5 separate regions of the Homo sapiens genome follow, and regions 2, 3, 4 and 5 are each linked to region 1. The links are contacts of gene promoters, found by promoter capture Hi-C in blood cells and fetal thymus (Javierre and others, 2016). All regions are on one chromosome and are shown on one strand. Each heading gives the region's core, a stretch centred on a gene start or on the middle of the fragment in contact. The rest is flanking DNA. Distances are from core to core; before and after follow the strand shown.

What was found. The method cuts DNA at HindIII sites, captures the fragments that hold promoters and counts their contacts. A CHiCAGO score of 5 or more calls a contact.
Region 2: a fragment that was not itself captured here is called in contact with the fragment with the promoter of SETD3 in region 1 in 1 of 17 cell types (neutrophils); the score reaches 11.8 in neutrophils.
Region 3: a fragment that was not itself captured here is called in contact with the fragment with the promoter of SETD3 in region 1 in 1 of 17 cell types (naive CD4 T cells); the score reaches 5.8 in naive CD4 T cells.
Region 4: a contact is called between a fragment that was not itself captured here and the fragment with the promoter of SETD3 in region 1, in 1 of 17 cell types (neutrophils). The highest score is 6.5, in neutrophils.
Region 5: a fragment that was not itself captured here is called in contact with the fragment with the promoter of SETD3 in region 1 in 1 of 17 cell types (neutrophils); the score reaches 6.5 in neutrophils.

Annotation. Positions count from the first base shown.
Region 1 is chr14:99,479,289-99,482,488 of GRCh38, reverse strand. It overlaps SETD3 (SET domain containing 3, actin N3(tau)-histidine methyltransferase), which reads left to right and starts at 1,630. Exons shown (of 13, transcript NM_032233.3): 1 at 1,630-1,761. It overlaps CCNK (cyclin K), which reads right to left and starts at 1,080. Exons shown (of 11, transcript NM_001099402.2): 1 at 1,010-1,080. RefSeq lists enhancers at 820-1,189, 1,998-2,499 and silencers at 1,380-1,839, 1,950-2,149. The HindIII fragment of the contact is 7,554 bases long and covers 1-3,200 here.
Region 2 is chr14:102,086,986-102,090,185 of GRCh38, reverse strand. It overlaps HSP90AA1 (heat shock protein 90 alpha family class A member 1), which reads left to right and starts at 3,142. Exons shown (of 11, transcript NM_005348.4): 1 at 3,142-3,200. RefSeq lists silencers at 2,585-2,634, 2,695-3,200. The HindIII fragment of the contact is 4,777 bases long and covers 1-3,200 here.
Region 3 is chr14:96,958,703-96,961,902 of GRCh38, reverse strand. No RefSeq gene overlaps it. Among named protein-coding and RNA genes, the nearest start is that of LINC00618, 17 kb to the right of the region's middle. The HindIII fragment of the contact is 1,975 bases long and covers 626-2,600 here.
Region 4 is chr14:101,971,686-101,974,885 of GRCh38, reverse strand. The region is part of intron 1 of DYNC1H1 (dynein cytoplasmic 1 heavy chain 1); the gene reads right to left. Among named protein-coding and RNA genes, the nearest start is that of DYNC1H1, 8.7 kb to the right of the region's middle. The HindIII fragment of the contact is 2,551 bases long and covers 204-2,754 here.
Region 5 is chr14:101,955,592-101,958,791 of GRCh38, reverse strand. No RefSeq gene overlaps it. Among named protein-coding and RNA genes, the nearest start is that of DYNC1H1, 7.4 kb to the left of the region's middle. The HindIII fragment of the contact is 2,864 bases long and covers 240-3,103 here.

The DNA of each region.
Region 1 (3,200 bases), core at 381-2,880:
TTTAATCCAAATGTCTATCAATACTACTACCACTACCATCATCCATCCATTCTTTCATTCAGCAATACAGAGGGCTTATTAAACGTCAGGCAGTGTTCTAGGCGCTGAAAGCTCCTCGCTTTCATTCTAGCAACATCATTCATACAAACCTTTAGCGGGCACCTACAACTGCAAGGCATTGTGCTAGGTATCTGTAAACAGCGATTTAGATCGAGATACACAAACATCACCAAGTTTCTCTTAAAAACACAGAAGACCACCCTTAAGAAATGCTCTTAGAAATAGTTCCTAACCTCAGATGACTTAGCGAAAGCTCCGTTTAACTGGCAGTCTAAATTTAGGGAGCATTACCGAGCCTATCTTGGGCAGACAATCGTTTAGGAGCTGTCACATAACCTCTAGACTTACGCTCCAATTTTCTAAAGAACAATTTCTCTCATAACAAACCAAATCAACCACCAGGAGCGGGTCCGTAAAGACGATGTCTGGGCAAGAACGAAATCTAATCCCGGAAGTGCCTTTTCCTCATCTTAGCCGCACCCTCGTTACGTGGCTCTCCAAAACTCCAAAGTCGGAGTACCCTAGACATGGAACAACCTCCAAAAAGTTTCAGGCCTAGCCAAGGTTGGGACTAATACGCCGCGAAATAATCGGGGAGATATGAGAAGTCTGTGGCTGTGAGACTGTGCGCGGTTAACACCGCTGCCCCTTTTGCCCAACCCCTAGAAAGTTCCCCAACTCTGACTGCCCCCCAGTGCGAGGGCCGCTACCAGTTCTAGGGTGAGTCCGGCCTCCCTGCCCCGCCCCGGCGCCTCAGACCCTCTCTACACGCCCGCCCCACAACCCCGCGTCGCCCGCAAAGTTCAATGTGTACCGGAGGTTAGCGGAGGGAGGCAGAATCCGGAAAGAGAGACTCCGCCAGTGGATAGCGGCGGTTGGCCATAACCTACTCCGACCTCCAGATACGCGGGAGGTGGGCGGCGCTGCCCTCAGTCGGTGGGTCACTCACCCCTCGCTTCAGGCAAGCCCCTCAGCGACGTCTCTCCTTGCCGACTGCGGCCATCTTGTATATGGAATGTCGGGGACCTACGTCATCACGCTGCGTCCTGAGACGCCACCAAGCGACCGGAGGGGCGGAGAGAGTAGGATGCCTGTCAACCAATGGGAAGAAAGCAGAGCTCTCAAAAGAGGAACGAGCCGCCGCTCTCCTCCCCGCCCGCCCCGCGGGTCAGTGGCTGCTGCTTACAGAGGGAGGAGCCAGCCACAGGGCCCATCCCGTCGGTCCCGCCCCTCGGGGCGAAAAGGCATTCTGGAGCAACCGAACCTGCTAACGGAACTTGGGCGCGTAGGCGGGGCCCGGGTCGAGATTCGTCCAATCAAAGCTCTGGCGGGGGCGAACGCAGCCAGTTGCGACATCGTGGTTGGCGGCGGCTGAGCCGGCCGCTCTTGCCCCCGGGAGCTGCCAGCCCACTGGCTGGGGAGGACCCCGAACGGAACGCCGGCTGGGTGGCGGGGCGGGGCCGCGCCCATGCGTCCGAAGCGTGGGCCAATGAACGGCGGCGGCTGCGGCCCGGGGGCGGGGTCCGGGGCGGGAGGAGAAGCGTTGGGCCGCGGTCGCGGGGCCGTCTCAGGCTGCCGTCCCGCCCCTCCCGTCCGGCCGCCGCCGCCGCCACCGCCGCCACCGCCTGGGGGTTGGTTGAGGCGGACGGCGGGGTCCGGGCCGGAGTACGTCGTTCCCGCTGCGCTAGGGGAAGCGGGCAGGTGAGTGCTGGCGGCGGTCTCTGCGCCCGCGCGGCCCGCGGGGGAAACTCGCGCCGCGTCTCCGAGCTCTGCGAGGCCGTCCCTCGCCCTGGCCAGCGCCCCTCGGCCGAAGTCCGGCCCGCGCCCCCGCCAGGGTCCCCGCCGGCCGCTGTGGCCCCGGGGCTTGAAGGGGCAGGTGTGCGCTCGGGGGCCAGGGCGAGGAGGGCCCGGCGGGGTCGGAGGGCGCCGGTCGGCCTCTGCCCGGGCGCCCTGCGGGGCGAGAGGCGCGCGCTCGCCGCTGCCCTGTCCCCTCTGGCGCCCACGCTCCCGGGCCCCGCGCCACCCGGTCTCGAGGTGGTGCCAGGTGCAGGCAGCGCTCTCCCCGAGCTTGCCCCGCTGTCCCCGGCCCTCGCGCCTGCTCTCGGGTGGGGCCCGGGCCCCTCGCGCTAGTCGGCTCGGCTCTGCGCGCGGCCGGGTCGCGCTCCCATTTCCTTCCTTCCTCCCGTCACCCCGCTGCTCGGGGAAGGCTGTGCGGTTTTATGTTCCTCTCTGCGAGTTCTCGGTGCCCACCAGGGTGCCCGGGGACCAGCCCCCGCCTCCTCCCGCGCCGTCCAGTTAGGAAGACGGACGTAGGAAATAGGTCGTCTTTCTTCCCACGCGCCCCTGGCCGTGCTCCACACGCGCAGTGCCCTACTAGGGAGAGGCAATTCGGTGCTTTAGAGTTTGTCATTCCGGCGTTAACTCTTCCTCCTCGTGGCTCCAGCCCGGCGATGCAACTCTTGTCTTTTCCCGGTCTCCACTTGGGAAAAGGAGCTGACAGTGACGCGCGCCCCTGGCTGCGGGGCTCACCCCTGCCCGGCCGGTGTTGGGAGGAGGGCATTTCAGTGTTGCAAAGGCATTCGCGGGTTAGGACCACTCGGACCGTGTTATTTTGCTTTTCTAAATAAATAAGGTGATGTTTCAAAAGCAAAAATACTTTTAAAGTATGCTGACAAATCAATTTTGCTTTTAAGAATCCTCGAAGAGTTACCCCATCTTCGTAGCCTGATTGTGGTGCTGATGAGGCCACTATAAATGCGTTTGTCAGAACTCAGAACCGGACACTGAAAAGTGTGAATTTTATCTTATGTAAAATATACCTCTCCCTCTCCCGTTTTTCTTCTTGAAATGACCTTGCCAGTATTTCAAAACTGAACTAACCAGTAATAATCTCGGAGAAGTGTTTATTATTTTAAGCGAATACATTTAACCCAAGAATATAGCAAAATAAAGCAGTCTTCCTCTCCACTGTTAAAATTTGCCAAGACTTGCTTGAACCTTGCTGTATGTACTGTGTTTATACGGGCTACCATGCGTGAAAGTCCAGCAGTACTGGATTAGTCCCAAGGGCTGCCGTGATTGATACTTTGGTGAAATTCCAACAGTTTACCGAGGAGTTTTTCTTCGGCCTAAGAAAGTAG
Region 2 (3,200 bases), core at 452-2,951, 2.6 Mb before region 1:
AGGGAACAGCATTTGCACAGCCTCGTGGGGGCGAGTCATGGGGAGTGCGCCAGACACAGAAATAGGAGCACAGTGGGAACTGGCGCTGTATGGGGAGGCAGCAGCGACCTGCAGGGCCTCACAGGCCTAAAGAGCTCTGTCTTCCTCCTAGAAGGATGGGAAGTCAGCTAGAATTTGCAGAGGGTGGGGAGGAGGGAATAGATAGGGCCAGGTCTGTGTTCTCAAAGCTCACCCTGGCTACAGTTTGGAGACAGACCAGACCATATGCAGGGAGCAGTTAGGTGGTTATGGAGGCCTTCCAGGTGAGCTGACGGTTGTGTGGAAGCGGGGGATGAAGGTGGAGGGAAGTGGCTGGGTTCAAGAGGTACTTAGGAGGCAGAAGTGGCAGGACTCAGTGCCAGATCCGTTGTGGGGATGCTTGGGGTTCTTTAAGGTGGGATAGTCAGTGACCTGGCTAACGAGCCCTCAAAGAGGGCTGGAGACAGGGGGGAAGCTCATGAGGCTCAGCATCCAGGTCTGGAGCTGAGTCCTGGCCGGGCTCTTCCGTGAGTCATCTGCACACAAGTTCTATTAGTGAGAGTGCTGGACAAGATTTCCTGGGGGCAAAGACCCACCTCCAAGAGCTCCGTGATGTGCCAGGGAGAGGGGCATGAGTCTGAGAAGAGAGAAGGAACAGCCAGGGGCTGGCGTGTTGATGGTAGAAACCATTACAGAGTTCGCACCTGGTGGGTAACTGTGGAATGTCACCTGGAGACAGGACAAAAATGTCCTGTTTATTAACCGAGGGGGGAGAGCTGGAAAGACAAGAAGTTGTGGAAGGAAGAAGGGACATTAAAGATGGGGCCTGACGGGAAACAGTGGTTCCCAGTGATGCCCAGACCCAGGGAGGGGCTTTGGAGCAGGTTCACTGGAGAAATGGGGGTAAATGAAGGTCCCCAAAACAAAGGACAAAGAATGTCAGAGCTGGCCGGGCGCCGTGGCTCACGCCTGTAATCCCAGCACTTTGGGAGGCCGAGGCGGGCGGATCACCTGAGGTCACGGGTTCGAGACCAGCCTGGCCAACATGGTGAAACCCCGTCTCTACTAAAAATACAAAAATTAGCCGGGCGTAGTGGTGGGTGCCTGTAATCCCAGCTACTCGGGAGGCTAAGGCAGGAGAATCGCTTGAACCCAGGAGGTAGAGGTTGCAGTGAGCAGGTTGCAGTGAGCAGAGATTGTGCCATTGCCCTCGAGCCTGGGGGACCAAGAGTGAGACTTTGTCTAAAAAAAAAAAAAAAAGAAAAGAAAAAAAAGAACGTCAGAGTTAGGGCCCTGGATGGCTCCTCTATATCTCAAACCCCCTGGGCAATGGCAGAAACTGCGGTAGGAAAAGTTCCTACAAGTGAGGAGAGCGGGGACAGTGGCTGGTGGTGACAGGAAGGAAACAGGCAAAGGCGGCAGTCGCCAGGGAAGACCTTGCGCCCCTTCAGCGACCCGCTCACCGCTCTTCCTGCTTCCGGATTCCTCCCCGCCAGTCCAGGCTGCAGCTGTAGGAAAGCCTGGGCCGGGGGCGCGCCCCCAGGCTGCGCAACAGCTACCACAGGACCAGGCACACACCCGGTCACCACCGCTGGGGCCCGCGCCACGTGGCTGCTAGTTTCCTTCCACTTCCCCCGCTTTGTAATGCCAGGCAAGACGCTTTATGTTGATTTCACACGCTCTTAAGGGGGTCCCAGGCCGCAGTCTGAAAACCCCTGCTCCTGAGCAAGTTGCGTTTCCCTAAAGACCAGGAAGCGGAGGTAGTTCCATCGTTTCTTTACACGGCAAGGAGCTTTCAGATTATTCCGAGGGCCTGGCTATGAGTCTAGGCAGGAGGCGGCCCAATCATGGGAGGCGCCAGAGACAAAGAGGAAGAGGACATGGACTAGGCAGGGAAGCCAGGTCGAAGGAACCCCAATGCCTCCAAGGTTCCCACAGCTGGCCTTGGCCAAAATATCCGAAAATTCCCATGTAGAAACTGGCTTTTCCAGCCTGGGCAACATGGTGAAACCCCGACTCTACAAATAAATACAAAAACTAGACAGGTGTGGTGTCCGCGCCTGTGGTCCTCTGCCCACGCTCGTCCCAGCTACTGGGAAAGCTGAGGCGGGAGGATCACCTGAGCCCGGGAGGGTCGAGGCTGCAGTGAGCCGAGATTCCGCCGCGGCACCCCAGCCTGGGCGACAAAGCGAGAGCCTGTCCAAAAAAAAAAAAAAGAAAAAAAAAAAAAAAAAAACCTTTTAGGGCAAGTTAATCACCAAAGTGTTAGATACTTAATTTGGAGACCGCAAATCGGTCGGCAAAACGATGGGCTTTTCAAAATCATGCCGGGTGTAGCTGGGTAAGCATGAATTTGTTCACCAAGTCCCCGATTCCCAAGCTAAGGGACCCTTAAGTATGAAGCACATGGCTTTCGGGGAACCCAAAAGTAGGGAGCGCTCCCGAGCCAGCGGTGGGTCTGGAGAATCCCCGAGCGCGCAGGCCGCGGGACAGCCTCCCCAGTGCGCAGCAGCCTGAGGCTAACAGCCCCCAGAGGGCAGAGCCCCGCGATCCCGGCGCCGCTTGCGGCTGGATTCTTTGGCAGCGGGCGCGGCGCCAGTCAGGACGACGGCTCCGGAAGTCTCCCGGGCGCGTGAGACCCGGGCCGCTCTCCGTCCACGCACGACCCTCCCTCCAGGCGCGCCTCCCACCCCGGCCCCGCGTTCCGCTCAGCCCGGGTGACCAACTACACCTCACTTCAAAGGCCCCCACGCCCGGGCGTGCCCTCCGCCCGCCCGCGGCAGGTGGGGGTGCAGGGCGGAGGGCGCGGGCGGCCCCAGAAGGCGCCCGGACCTTCCCGAGAATTCCGGGCCGCGCAGGCGCATTGAGGCCGGCGCGGGGGCGTGCGAGAGGCGCGCGGCGGCGATTGAGGGAAGGTTGCCCGGGCCGGGCCACGAGCAGGGCCTGCGCGCGCCCGCAGGAAGGCGCGGGGGCGGGGTGCCGCGGCAACGGCGCATGCGTAGGCGCGCGGCCGCGGCGGCGGCTGGGGAGGGTTCTTCCGGAAGGTTCGGGAGGCTTCTGGAAAAAGCGCCGCGCGCTGGGCGGGCCCGTCGCTATATAAGGCAGGCGCGGGGGTGGCGCGTCAGTTGCTTCAGCGTCCCGGTGTGGCTGTGCCGTTGGTCCTGTGCGGTCACTTAGCCAAG
Region 3 (3,200 bases), core at 364-2,863, 2.5 Mb after region 1:
AATGTACCACTTTAACCATTTTTAAGTGTATAGTTCAGTGGCATTAAGTACATTCACAGTACTGTACAACCATCAATACTCTCCATATCCAGAGCTTTTTGTTTGTTTGGTTTTTGAGTTTTTTGTTTTTTGTTTTTTTTGAGATGGAGTCTCACTCTGTTGCCCAGGCTGGAGTACAGTAGCACAATCTCAGCTCACTGCAACTTCTACCTCCCTGGTTCAAAAGATTCTCCTGCCTCAGCCTCCCAAGTAGCTCGGACTACAGATGTGTACTACCATGCCCGGCTAATTTTTTGTATTTTTAGTAGAGTTGGGGTTTCACCATCATGGCTAGGCTGGTCTCAAACTCCTGACCTACAGTGATCCACCTGCCTCGGCCTCCCAACGTGCTGGGATTACAGGCATGAGCCACCATGCCCGGCCAATCTTCAGAACTTTTTCATCTTGCAAAACTGAAACTCTGTACCCATTAAACAACAACTCTGTATTCCCTCTCCCCTACCCTGGCAATCACTGTTCTACTTTCTGTCTCTACAAGTTTGGCTGCTCTAGGAACCTCATATAAGGAATCATACAGTATCTGTCCTTTTGTGTCTAGATTATTTTTCTCGTATGTCTCCAAGCTTCATTCATGTCACAGCATGTGTCAGAATTTCCTTCCTTTTCAAGGAAAGAAATAATATTTCTGAATAATATCCCACTCTATGTATATAACACATTTTCTTTGTCCATTCATCCATTGATGGACCCTTGGGTTGATTCCACCTTTTGCCTGTTTTGAATAATGCTGCTATGAACATGGGTGTGCAAATATTGCTTTAACACCCTGCCTTCAATTATTTCGGATGTATACCAAGAAATGGAATTGCTGGTTCATCAGCTAATTCTATATTTAATTTTTTGAGGAACCACCATAATATCTTCCACAGAGGCTGCACCATTTTACATTCCTACCAGCAAGGTACAACGGCTCCAATTTCCCCACTTCCTTGCCAACATTTGTAACTTCCTGTTTTGCTGGTAATAGTTATTCTAATGGGTATGCAATAGACCACTACTTTATGTTAGATTTGCTCTGTTGGACTAACAGGCATGGCTCCATCTCCTGGTTGGGCCCTAGCTGATACAGAAGGCTTCTAGGAGGAGCTGCAATTGGAGCAAATCATTGGAGGATGAGGCACCTGATGGGTGCTGAGAGGGAGGGCATCAGGGCAGGACTAGACTGTTGAGGGGAAGGGCCAGAGAAGAGCAGGACTGGACCCTTGCCAGGTTGGGGTGAGGCCATGCAACTCACATAGCCAAGCTGGATTCTATTCTCTCAGCAACCTGTCCCTGAAGCTGAAGTAAGTGTCCTCTGACTGCAAATCCAGCAGTGTGCTCCCAGATCAACACTTCTCTAAGCATCTAAGGAGCAGACCTAGGAAGCCTCTAATGAAGTATGTGGCCCGCTAAACAAATGCAAAAACTGAGGCCTACAGGGAGGCAGTAACTCAGCCAAAACACCCTGTGAGAACTCAGCCTTCTTGATTCACTCCATCTCATAGCACTGGTCTCAGTCTTTCTCCTACATACCACCCTCTGTGTAGAGGAAAACACCTCCTTTGCCTTCCCAGGCCCAATGGTGGTGGTAATAGTAACAACCAGGTTGATTGAGTGCTGACAATGGACCAGGCACTTTACATGCATCATGCCACTGTCCAGCCTCAGCATTGTCCAAGGTCAGTTCTATCACTGTTCCCATTTTACAGATGAGGAAACTGAGGCTTAGCAAGTTTAAATGACCTGGCTGAGCTACAGAAGTAGAACCAGGATTGGAACCCTGCAGTCTGACCCCAAAGCCCACATGCTTTGGCCATTCCACCCCTCCCCTCTGCGCTGTGGGAAGATGTGAAATTTTCCAGAGGAAGGACCTGAGTCCTCATAGCTGCATGCCCCCAGAGCACTGAGAGGGGCTGAAACATGGATGCTAGGAACTTTCCAGCAACAGCTGCTGATGGTGAGTTGACTTAGCGCTCCCATGGCAACATGTGGAAGGCAGAGGCAGTAATTGGGAGAGACAGAGAGAGCCCAGAGCCAGGCAGACCAGTCCTGTCAAAAGTCCTGGACAAGGCAAGAACTTTCTGTATTATTTTTTCTGCCCATATTTATTTAGGAATGTGTTTTTCCCCCAAGCTCTTTCTGAGGCTGTGGTGAGGAGGGCAGGCTGTGTGGGCTGAATCCAGGGAAATGTGGACTCACCTGCACAGAGGCCCATGCCCGCTTCTACCCTGCACTCAGGACTGGATCCCCAAGGGCCCTGATGGGGAACCATGGCACTGGGCAAGGCTGGTCCAGCAGCCTGATACCAGCCCTGGGTTGGAGAAGGTGAGCAGCCCGGCCTTCCAGCACAGGCAGGTGTAAAGGCTAGGCTCCCCCAAGCACCAAGATCCAGAATTTGACACAGCTCTCCTCTCTGCCCAGGGCCTCTCAAAGATCCAGTGAAAGCCCCAGACCTATTTCTTACATGCCTGGGGGGTTTGTAGAGCCCCCTGAAGCCTACTGTGGACAGCCTTGGGACCCACAGACCCCAGATTAAGTACCTCTGAGCTTGCCTCCAAGCTTCTTAGGAACAGGGATGGGTTTGTTGTGGAATCCCTGACACCCAACATGGGCTAGCCCATCACAAGCCCCCACACATGTGCTGAATGACGAAGTAACTCCAGGTAGAGATTCTCACACCTGTTTTGCAGGTGAGGAAACTGAGATCCAGAGAGGATGTGCAATTTGTGCAATGCCAGGACCCGTCTCCAAAGTCCAGGCTCCATCCTCTCTAGCTGCCGCCTTCAGCGGTGCTGGGTATCATAGTGAGAGGTTAACGTTTCCTGTATGTTTAAGCGTATAAGCGCATCAACATGTTGTCTCATTCAGTGTCCATAGCAACCACAGCAACAGGCCTAGCATTGCATCTATTTTAAAGCTGAGGAAACTGAGGCACAGAGATGTTGAGCAACTCACCAAGGCTCTCGACAGGTGAGTGGCAGAGCTGGGATTTGGACCAAGCAGGCTGCCCCCAGGGCTCATGTGCCCACCAAGTGGGCTCTGCTACCTCCCCCAGGGGATAAACTTAGGTTTTGGAAGGCAGGAACACCCTAGACTCCCTGCCCTGTGGGAGGGGACTTTGAGGGGCAGCAGCACGTGGAGCCCGAGGCCAGGCATGAAAG
Region 4 (3,200 bases), core at 230-2,729, 2.5 Mb before region 1:
TAGATTCCACGCAATACAACATGCACACAGTAGTCACTTTCAAAAGCTTACGGAGGCCGGGCTGGTGGCTTACGTCAGTAATCCCAGCACTTTGGGAGGCTGAGGTGTGGACCACTTCAGCTCAGGAGTATGAGACTAGTCTGGGCAACATGGTGAAACCATGTCTCAATTTTTTAATAATAAAATTTAAGTTTAAAAAAGCTTACTGGAAATTAATAGTAAGGTAGCCTCAAGAAGCATGTGAACCAAATTTCTAAATTAAAAATCAAGATTGAAGAACTAAAAAAAGTATAAGAATAGAAAATAATCTAAACCTCTACATCTAGTACTAATCCATGCAATGCCTAAACATTCTAGTCAAATTATCTTTGCAATAACGTACTGTATGAAATATATGTTGGCAAAAATTACAATCTATGGATTAATTTAACATGATTATTTTATACATAGTTCACCTTTTAAAAGTCATGATGTAATAGAAAGGGAAGGCTGGGCGTGATGGCGCATGCCTGCAATCCCAGCACTTTGGGAGGCCAAGGCAGGTGGATCACCTGAGGTAGAGAGTTCGAGACCAGCCTGACAAACAAGGAGAAACCCCGTCTCTGCTAAAAATACAAAATTAGCCAGGCATGGTGGCGCATGCCTGTAATTCCAGCTACTCGGGAAGCTGAGGCAGGCGAATCGCTTGAACCCAGGAGGCGGAGGTTGTGGTGAGTTGAGATCACGCCATTGCACTCCAGCCTGGGCAACAAGAGTGAAACTCCATCTCAAAAAAAATAAATAAATAAATAAAGGAAAGGGCAGTAGTTTCAACAGTTCAAGTTCTATTGCTTAGAAGATATGTGACCTTGAGAAAGTCATTTTTCTTTCTCTGGGCTTCAAATTTGTAAGGTGTAAAATGGGTGGTGGAGCAGGCAGTAGAATATTGAGTTAGGTGGTTATAAGGTTTCATTAAGCACTAAAAACTATGAAACCTGGATACACAGGGTCTGAGCAAAAGCTATTTGCTTCCTTAGCTATTGTTTTAAAAATCTTGCTCCTTCTGTAAGCATTTTATTTTAATTAATTAATTTATTTATTTAGAGACAATGTCTTGCTCTGCCGCCCAGGCTGGAACGCAGTGGCTTCATCACACCTCACTGTAGTCTTGATCTTCTGGGTTCAAGAGATCCTCCTGCCTCAGCCTCCCAAAGAGCTGGGACCCCACGCTCATGCCACCACCTTCAGTGGATTTTTAAAACATTTTTTAGAGATGGGGTCTCTCTATGTTGCTCAGGCTGGTGTCAAACTCCTGGGGCTCAAGAGATCCTCATGCCTCGGCCTGGCACTACAGGCATGAGTCATTGCGCCCAACCCCTGCTTCCTTAGTTTTAAGATGAGACAAATACAAAATTCACACTAAAGAGTATAAAATATTAGTCTATCTGGCCAGGCGCGGTGGCTCATGCCTGTAATCTCAGCACTTTGGGAGGCCGAGGCGGGCAGATCACTTCAAGTCAGGAGTTCAATACCAGCCTGGCCAACATGGTGAAACCCTATACCTACTAAAAATTAAAAAAATTAGCTGGGTGTGGTGGTTGGCACCTGTAATTTCAGTTATTTGGGAGGTTGGGGTAAGAGAATTGCTTCAACCTGGGAGGTGGAGGTTGCAGTGAGCTGAGATTGATCTCAAAAAAAAAAAAAAAATTAGTGTATCTATCGAGAGACAATAATTCTTCCAAATTATTGTTTTGGGTATATTTGGATATAATTTTAGGAAGAGGAAGGAGTAGGCGGCAGAACATTCTAGTATGCCAGATACTTGCTATTTTTTAAAACGACTATTAAAAAAACTAAAGAAAGCAACCAATTTTTCTAACCACTCAAATGTAGCTAGACCACAAGAGAAATCACACTGCCTGAAAGCAGCCACACACGATTACAACCTGTAAAATGTAAGCATAGAGAATAAAGAACTATCTCCAAACTGAAACAGCTGTCAAAGTACTGCGATGATTTTCTCCCTCAATTTTCTGAATTTTCCATATTGTTCTACCATTTATATAAAATATGCCATCAAAATAACACCGAAACAATATACAGAAAATAAAATTAACATTCTATAATGATCAAAGGAAATCACTGACGCAACTAAAAATATGGCTTGTTAACTCTGAATCATTTCTACCCCCCATAAAGAGTCATCATTGATACAAATAAAATCACACAGAAATTGCGCAGTCCGGACACAGCATATGAGCATGTGGCCTACACTTCCTAATGCAAACCGGGTTAGGGGAACTAGGTGCCATTCCAAGAGATGAGTCACCGCTGTGTGGTGAGCGCTCCAGCTCTGCCCTGGGAATACTGCAATGCAGTAGAATGCTGCTTCAGCTCAGGAAGGCACACCCAATGACATAATCCTCAAACAACGATAATGCAAATAGATATTCCCTGCTGCTTTGCTAAATTCTAACTTCTCTTGATAATAACTTATGGAAGTCACTACGAACCAGTCACAGAAAACATCTTGGACTAGTCTTTCTGTGCATATTCCCTATAAAGACACGGATCAAACACAGTTGAGTATGTCTGACTCCCATTTACAGTCACACAATTTAGGACACTGTTTCAAAAACTGCCATCAAATAATAATCTGACATTCTACTTTTCTTTCTTTTTTTTTTTTTTAAATAGTTGTCCAGAGGAGGAAGGACACTTGATTATTAATTCTTAATAACAAAGAGGCTATTAGCCCTGTTATATTTATAAGCTTACTACAAACACAATCTGCACGTTTGATTAAGTAATACCACTTTCAGTAAAATTTGAATCCATTTCCTTATGCTTGGCAAAGTTACTAGTTAATACAAAGTTACTGTTAAAATGTAACAGACCAATACTGTACTATATGTCCATGCATTCAAAGAATCAAAGTACTGGGCCTGCTTCATGAGTTCCTTCCCTGCAAGCTATACTGACACACATTACAACAACTTGTGAACACTTCCTTGGTTAACTTTTGAGAGTTTATTGAATTTCTAGAGATGTTCAAAATGGCATTTAGCACTAACGTGTGTATACTTTTATTCAAAGACTAGTTTAATGTATTTCAAACTACTAGTAATTTGTATCATTAAACTATGAATTAGGTAAGCATTACATCTGTTTTATTTTTTTTGAGACAGGATCTCACTCTGTCACCCAGGCTGGAGTGCAGT
Region 5 (3,200 bases), core at 422-2,921, 2.5 Mb before region 1:
CCTCTAGCTGCACTGCTGGAGCCCCTCGTTGGTGGCAGCATCCATGTTCTCTCCTGCAACTGTTTCCTCTATGACCTCACTTATATTTGATTGGAATGTCCTCTCCAGGGCTATCACATTTTATTTCTTTATCACACATTCACCTCTGTGGGCCAGTGATGTAATTGACCATGGATCATGACGTGCTTCTGTCATTTATGATGCAGTGATTTGTGGACTGAAGAGCTGGCAGCAAAGCTTGTACTTTATTCAATTACTCACAGGTAATTTACGATGGTAACTGGTACTTGAACCGTGTGGCTGGGAAACTGGTGTTATTGAACTAAACCGTGGTAAGGAAATCTTGTCCATATAGATTGGACCCATGCAAAGCTGGAACTGCCTATATTGACTGATTTTCTCCCTCCATTTCACATTCTGCCTCCCCATTCGTGCAGGAGCCTAGCTTGGTCTGTGGTTCTAGGACTGAAAGCAGAAGGTGCCTATTGGTCTTTCAGGCTTTTTTTTTTTTTTTTTTTTTTTTTTTTCCCAAAAGTCCTAGCCCTTGAGAGTAAAAGGGCATATGGGGGAGAAAGGGGAAAGTTAGAATCTCCCATGTAGGCAAAGCATGCTGGGGAAGCAGGAGGTGACAGAGCCACAAGAAGACTCTCCAGGCTGGGGTGAGGAGAGGCAGGTGAGGGGGTCCTGCTGCCCACCGGCCCCTAGAGAGCAATGCTGGGGAAGTGGGAGCTGGCACCCAGGTGACAAGACCCCAGGCAGGCTGGCCAAAGAGGCCCTCCTACCCATTGAGGCCAGGAGAAGTGTGGGACCAGAGGGCCAGGGTAACCGGTGTGAGGCAAAGTAGCAAGCGTAAGAAGCCATGTGTGCTCAGTTCTGCTTGTCAATGTAATTTCACAAAGCCCTGCCTCTGTGACCACGTGTAGCTCTCTGGAAAGATGCTCTGAAGACAAAACAGGACAGAGCACACAGCCCACGTGTCTTGCTGGAGTCAATATGTTCCTTAAAAGATAAATGGCCGTAGCCTTGCCTTTTCCTGTACATAAGATAACATATGACGGGGTTAGTGCTGATTATAACCTGATGTGGTTATAAATCTACAATCTATAACCAGATGTACTCTCTCTCTTTTTTTTTTTTTTTTGAGATGGAGTCTCACTCTGTCACTCAGGCTGGAGTGCAGTGGCACAATCTCAGCTCACTGCAACTTTCACCTCCGGGTTCAAGCGATCCTCCTGCCTCAGCCTCCCGAGTAGCTAGGACTATAGGCATGAGCCACCACACCCAGCTAATTTTTGTATTTTTTTTTTAGACGGAGTTTCGCTCTTTTGCCCAGGCTAGAGTGCAGTGGTGCGATCTCAGCTCACTGCTGCCTCCACCTTCTGGGTTTCAAGTGATTCTCCTGCCTCAGCCTCCCAAGTAGCTGGGATTACAGGCACCCGCCACCACTCCCGGCTAACTTTTATATTTTTAGTGGAGACGGGGTTTTACCATGTTGGCCAGGCTGGTCTCAAACTCCTGACCTTATGATCTGCCTACCTCGGCCTCCCAAAGTGCTGGGATTACAGGCGTGAGCCACAGCGCCCAGCCTACTTTTTGTATGTTTAGTAGAGACAGGGTTTCACCATGTTGGCCAGGCTGGTCTCAAACTCCTGACCTTGTGATCTGCCCACCTCAACCTCTCAAAGTGCTGGGATTACAGGCATGAGCCACCATGCCTGGCCTACAACCAGATGTACTCTTGTACCCAGACTTTGATGTGATTTTGCATGCACTAAACCTCCACTACCTGGATATAAGCGATCTGAAATGCTGTTCTGGAGCACTCTGACAGTACCTCTCTCAAAGACTTCTGGCCTGTATTCTTCAGCCTCCAGGCTTCAGTAAGGCTTCTGAATAAAATTAAATTTGCTTAAATGCTTGGGCAGGGACCAGGCACGGTGGCTCATGCCTGTAATCCTAGCACTTAGGGAGGCTGAGGAGGGAAGGTCCCTTGAGACCAGGAGCTGGAGACCAGCCGGAGCAACAAAGTGAAACCCCATCTCTACGAAAAATAAGCTGGGCATGGTGGTATGGGCCTGTGGTCCCAGCCACTTGGGAGGCTGAGCTGGGAGGATCGCTTGGGCACCGGGAGGTCGAGGCTGCAGTGAACCCTGATCACACCACACCAGCCCAGGCGACAGAGTGAGACGCTGTCTCAAAAAAAGAAAGACAAAAAAAAGTCTTGATGCTTTTCTTGCGTCGATACTGGTGTGACAGATGACAGATGACCTGGGCCAGCACGTTCTCCCCGGACAGAGCATGTCCCTGCTGCGCTTTAGCTGACTCAGGAAGGGGTAGAACCCTGAAACTGAATCCTGGGATGTGCTGGCCGTGGAATTGCGGAGTCGTGGAATGGGAGCCTGGTCAGACACTAGGCTGTTGCATACACTGGAGAGGGGGGACTTGTGGGCACGCCCCACTGCTGGAGGGAGAGGCCTGCGTCTCCGGCTGCGTCCTCACCACGCGCCGGGGGCTTCTAACGGCTTCCTCCAGCATCCCCAGATCCACCAGATGGATTAACTCTGCAATGCGAAGGTCAGGAACAGGTTTGGAAAGGGCAGTAGCTTGCTGAAGTCTCAGAGATAACAGGAGGCGGAGGAGGGGTTCAAACCCGGAGGCCGACCGTGTCTAGAGCCTTTGAGCCACCAAGGGGCATGGGCCGGGTCCTCTCCTTCCATTTTCCCCGTGCCGAAGGGCTGGGAATCCTAAAACATTCCCTCCCTCTCTCCCAAACGTCGATGAGCAGCTCTCTGGGCGGCAGCGTCCAGTGCAGAAAGCCGGTTGCCAAGGGCCCGCCCGGGACGCCCGCGCAGCAGCAGCGGGGCCAGCGCATCCGGACGCTTTCAGGTCCCCACCAGCGCACAGCGCCCGCAGCTGCCCGCTGTCCTGGCACGTGGGGCTGGGCCCGGCTCCGAGCGGGCGCTGGCAGATATTAACGTAGCTGTTTCCTTTAATTCCATGAGACCTTTCCTCCCAGGACTGCTGGAGAGGCAGCAGCAGAATCTCCTCCATCCGCCTCGCCAGCTGGGCACGCAGGAAGGCCTGGAACCACCTAGAGCAAGCTTGTCTAACTCGCGGCTCGCATGCGGCCCAACACAAATTGTAAACTTTCTTAAAGCTTTTATTTAATTTTATTTTTTGTGATTTTGTGTTTCCCCGCT